Linked DNA regions of Homo sapiens: region 1 is linked to region 2. The links are contacts of gene promoters, found by promoter capture Hi-C in human tissues and cell types (Jung and others, 2019). All regions are on one chromosome and are shown on one strand. The core of a region is centred on a gene start or on the middle of the fragment in contact, and the rest is flanking DNA. Distances in the headings are between cores, read along the strand shown. Region 1 overlaps CARD8 (caspase recruitment domain family member 8). Region 2 holds the start of PLA2G4C (phospholipase A2 group IVC).

Region 1 (2,700 bases), core at 201-2,700, 130 kb after region 2:
AATTAGTCACCAGGCTGCTCCACCTCCCAGGTTCAAGCGATTTTCCTGCCTCAGCCTCCTGAGCAGCTGGGACTACATGCGTGAGCCATGACGCCTGGCTAATTTTTTTGTATTTTTAGTAGAGACGGGGTTTCACCGTGTTAGCCAGGATGGTCTCGATCTCCTGACCTGGTGATCCTCCCGCCTCAGCCTCTCAAAGTGCTGGGATTACAGACGTGAGCCATTGCCCCTGGCCCAGAGAAATAATCTAAAGATTTGAATTCCAAAACCCTATACAAATGTTTTATTTTACCACCACTGAATTTATCTGCAATAACTGAATGTCTATTTATATGCATAATAATCACTCACAGGTTCCAACTAAACAAATATTTCTATCCAATTTTCAATAAAAATATTAAAATCTGCATATTTAATTTATTCATGTTTAATTATTATGCTTCTCACAGCCTGCGAAAAATTTAATTTAGCTATCCTCTGAACTACAAGCTTTTCCTTTGTTATAACGAACACTTTTCTTTTACTTAAGTATCGTTATTCCAGAGTTAATATAGTATGCATTCAAATTACTTCTTATTTAGTATTATTTTACCTAGTACCATTATATATTTAATTTTTTCTCATGAAGCCAGGCACAGTGGTTTGTGCCTGTAGTCCCAGCTACTCAGGAGGCTGAAGTGACAGGATCCCTTGATCCCAGGAGATTAAGGTCGCAGTGAGCTATGATGGCGCCGCTGCATTCCAGTCTGGGCGACAAAGCAATACCTCATTTCAAGAAACGAAATGGAATTTTTTCCTTATAAGAATCTTAAAGAAGGTGTACATTATCTTGGCTAACTTTCTATAGGATTAAGTAGAAGTTATTGAGACTTGGTCTACAGTCTTCTTTTTTTCATGAGTCAAAAAGCATCTCTCACTTTAGTTACACCTGTATTAGGAGAGTTATGATCAATTACAGCAGTTGTAGTTTCTGAGAACTTGGATAAATACAAACCTGAATTACACAGAATTTATGTAAATCCAGATATTCAAAAATGAGAAATAATGTAATATATGACCAAAGTAATATCAAGACAACATACAATTAAATCACTCAACAATTACTGGGAATATGTATCAAGGCAAGAATTGTAAAATTCTACCTGGTACTTCTGAAATGAACAAGGCAATGAGAAATAACAGTTTATCTTGTCTATTACTGAGTATCAATGAAAGCAATAAGGTGAACGGAAAAGTCCATGAAAACTCCATTTTCAGAATAATGAGGAGACAGATTTAATTCACAGATCCAAATGTTTCTCACCGGCTGACAAAACTGTGTTAAGTCAGGGTGAAGCATGGCGGAGGAACAGGGAGGAAGTGCAGAGTGAGAAAACATAAAGAAGTCAGGAAGTGCCAGAGGAGTAATTTCCTGTGAGTAAAGCCTCATACTCGGTGATTTATCTATAGAGTTTGAATACAAGAGCTGTGAGGTCTGGGCAGGTAGAGTGGAGGCTGAGCAGGAGATAAATGTGGTAGAGGCGGTGTGGATCCTTGAAAACAGAGAAATGCCCTAATGTGACAGAGTACAGAAATACTACAAAAACACACTTGTAGAAAGAACATTCTGCATATAATCAGGCATGGAACGGTCCCATGCATTCCATAATAATTAAGAAAAAGATATTACCAGAGCATTGCTTAAAGGCACTACAAGAAAATAGGTGAGAAGACCAGGAAGTTGTTGTTTTTTGTTTTGTTTTGTTTTAGATAAAGAACAATCAAAGGAAAATGATGGACCCAAGTTAACAATCACTCTTGGGGGGAAAAAAACTCCACCCACAATTCCTAAGTAAAAAGGATTACACACATTCTCGGCATAATATGTCTCTCTCAGGCCAAAGGATAACCTTGTGCTTCATGTGGACACTATGAAATCATTCCAGCTGAAGTCAGGAAAATACCAAGACCTTCCCTATTTAAGTTAAAATATCGGAAGCTTATTCCAAAATATTGGACAAATTCCAAATACAGTGATTGAAAGGAAGGAGATTAAACTATAACTCACTACACGTTATTTTCCTCTATAGAGAAACATAACGAATCACCTGAAATAAGCTACAAAAGTAAGATAAACCAGTAAGTTAGAGAAAGAATCTTTTTTTTTCTTTGAGACGGGGCCTCCCTCTGTCGCTCAGGCTGTAGAGAAGTGGCACAATCTCGGCTCACTGCAACCTCTGCATCCTGGGTTCAAGTGATTCTCCTGCCTTAGCCTCCCAAGTAGCTGCGATTACAGACATGCACCACCATGCCTGGCTAATTTTTTTTGTATTTTTAGTAGAGATGGGGTTTCACCATGTTGGATAGGCTGGTCTCAAACTTCTGACCTCAGGTGATCCGCCCACCTCAGCCTCCCAAAGTGCTGGGATTACAGGTGTCAGCCACCGCACCAGCCAGAAGAATCTTAATATACAAAAGTGAATAGCTTCTTAATATAACAGACTATCCCAATTCCATGAAAGAAGAAAATACACTCATTAAAATAGCAACTATGGTACCTAGAACTAAACTATACAAAAAAACTACATGACCCATATAATGCTTTTATTTTGAAATAATTTTAAACATTGAAAAATAGCAAAGATTCACATAAATCCTCAACCAGCTTATCTGAATGTTAGCTATATATAATTGTATTATATATAAAATAATTGTTATATA
Region 2 (2,700 bases), core at 195-2,694:
GCGAGCCTCTCACCTCAGCCTCCCGAGTAGCTGGAAGTGCAGGTACATGCTACCATCTCCAGCTAAATTTTTTATGTTTTGTAGAGATCAGGTCTTGTTATGTCACCCAGGCTGGTCTTGAACTCCTAGGCTCAAGAGAGCTTTCCACCTTGGCTTCCCAAAACGCTGGGATTATAGGCATGAGTCATCGCACTCGGCCAGACATAGGCTCTTAAAGGGGTGACTAAGTTAAAGTGGGGTCCTGAGGGTGGCCTGGAATTTGGTTTGATTGGTTTATTTTATTTTATTTTTTTTTGAGATGGAGTCTCGCTTTGTGCCCTAGGCTGGAGTGCAGTGGCGCAGTCTCGGCTCACTGCAAGCTCCGCCTTCCGGGCTCACGCCATTCTCCTGCCTCAGCCTCCGGAGTAGCTGGGACTACAGGCGCCCGCCACCACGCCCAGCTAATTTTTTGTATTTTTAGTTGAGACGGGGTTTCACTGTGTTAGCCAGGATGATCTCGATCTCCTGACCTCAGGATCCGCCCGCCTCGTCTTCCCAAAGGGCTGGGATTACAGGCGTGAGCCACCGCGCCCAGCCTGATTGGTTTTATAAGGAGAGATTAGGGCCTCTGCAAGAGGCTTCAGGAGAAACCAACCCTGCCAACACCTTGATCTTGGACTTCTAGCTTCCAGAAGTGTTAGAAAATAAATTCCTAGCCGGGCGCGGTGGCTCACGCCTGTAATCCCAGCACTTTGGAAGGCCGAGTGGGGTGGATCACGAGTTCAGGAGTTTGAGACCAGCCTGGCCAACATGGTGAAACCCCATCTCTACTAAAAATACAAAAATTAGCCGGGTGTGGTGGTGTGCGCCTGTAATCCCAGCTACTCGGGAGGTTGAGGCAGGAGAATCGCTTGAACCCCGGAGGCGGAGCTTGCCGTGAGCCGAGATCGCGTCACTGCACTCCAGCCTAGGCGACAGAGCGAGATGCTGTCTCAAAAAAAAATAAATAAATAAATAAAATAAAATAAAATAAAAAAGAAAAAGAAATCCTGTTATTTAATTGCACCCAATCCCTGGTACTTGGTTATGGCCGCCCCAGCGGGATGAAACAGCCCTCCCTGCCCCCACGGCTTGCCTGAGCCTGGGTCTGGGGCGTGTGCGCATGCGCGGTGGAGCTTGTGCTCCGGAATCCGGTGCGGAGGCTTGGGCTCCCTGCGCTTAGCGGTGTAGTCGCTGGACAGCTCCTTCAGCCGGAATCTCCGCGGGTGAAGACTGCGGGGATCCTCGGTGCCAAAGCTTCTGTGGTCCTCCTGCTTTCCTTTTCCCCCTGTGGGAGGAGGTCGCGGGCTGGAGGTGTTTCCTCCTGGTCCTGAGCAGGGCCAACCTGGAGGTAAAATGGCCCCTGCGCCTTTAAACAGCCCTCCTCGGCTTGTAGGCCCTGCTTGGTTGCTCCAGCTTTTTCAGCTGTTCCAGAGCTCACCCGGAGCTATTTTCATCCGTGGGATCACGTGGAGGGCTGGGACTTTCCAGGCTTCCTTAGTGATGTCACCCTTCTGTCATTAGGCACCCGAGACCAGTATTCAAAAAAAGAATGTTGTCGTTATATAACTATATTGGAGATAAGTATTCCTCAAAACAGATTAGCTAATCCTCCTATGCATCTGGCTGTCTAATAACCATCATATATAATATCATACTCAAATACCCAGAAAAAGAAATATTGAGGCCAGGCGTGGTGGCTTACGCCTGTAATCCTAGCACTTTGGGAGGCTGAGGCAGGCGGATCATGTGAAGTCAGGAGTTCGAGACCAGCCTGGCCAACATGGTGAAACACCTTCTCTACTAAAAATACAAAAATTAGCTCGGTATGGTGGCGTGTGCCTGTAATCCCAGCTACTACTCGGGAGGCTGAGGCAGGTGCTTCATCCTGGGAGGTGGAGGTTGCAGTGAGCCAGATCCTTAGGGCCAACTCTGGTTCATTTAATGTCCATTTTTAGAAAACCTGTGAGCTCCATTCACAGTGAAGGTTTGAAGCCCAGAAGTGGCCTCCCAACAGGGTACCACATTTCCCAGCACCTTTGCAGCTAGGTGTGGTCATGTGAGCGAGTTATGTGGTCATGTGACCGAGTTCCAGTCAGTGCAATCGGGCATCTGTGGGGAGCACCGCTTCCAAGAGTGGCTCCTAGAAACCTCCCATACTACCCTCCTGCCTACTCTTCCTGAAGCCCAGCACTAAGCGTCATCCCAACTCGATGGGTTTTGAATTTTTTTTTTTTTTTTTTGAGATGGAGTCTTACTCTTTGTCGCCCAGGCTGGTGTGCAGTGGTGCAATCTCGGCTCACTGCAACCTCCGTCTCCTGGGTTCAAGCGATTCTCCTACCTCAGCCTCCCGAGTAGCTGGGAACATAGGCATCTGCCACCACGCCCGGCTAATTATTTTTGTATTTTTAGTAGAGACAGGGTTTCACCATGTTGGCCAGGCTGGCTCGAACTGCTGAACTCAAGTGATCCACCTGCCTCGGCTTCCCAAAGTGCTGGGATTACAGTTGCGAGCCACCGCACCCAGCTTGAATTCTTATTTTTTAAAAATAGATATGAGGCCATAATCCTAGCACTTTGGGAGGCCAAGGCAGGAGTATCACCAATTTTAGAACAGGATTTCACCAGGGGGAAGATGGTCTCCCCTGCTCCCCCTAACGCCAGGCTCACCTCTTCAGTGCC

Evidence for each region. The method cuts DNA at HindIII sites, captures the fragments that hold promoters and counts their contacts. A contact is called where the count stands out against the background at its distance.
Region 1: a fragment that was not itself captured here is called in contact with the fragment with the promoter of PLA2G4C in region 2 in 4 of the 25 tissues and cell types used here (dorsolateral prefrontal cortex, mesenchymal stem cells, mesendoderm cells and 1 more).

The regions. Positions count from the first base shown.
Region 1 is chr19:48,243,078-48,245,777 of GRCh38, forward strand. The region is part of intron 3 of CARD8 (caspase recruitment domain family member 8); the gene reads right to left. Among named protein-coding and RNA genes, the nearest start is that of CARD8-AS1, 11 kb to the right of the region's middle. The HindIII fragment of the contact is 5,679 bases long and covers 1-2,700 here.
Region 2 is chr19:48,109,373-48,112,072 of GRCh38, forward strand. PLA2G4C (phospholipase A2 group IVC) reads right to left here and starts at 1,445. Exons shown (of 17, transcript NM_003706.3): 1 at 1,115-1,445. RefSeq lists an enhancer at 1,261-1,420. The HindIII fragment of the contact is 42,556 bases long and covers 1-2,700 here.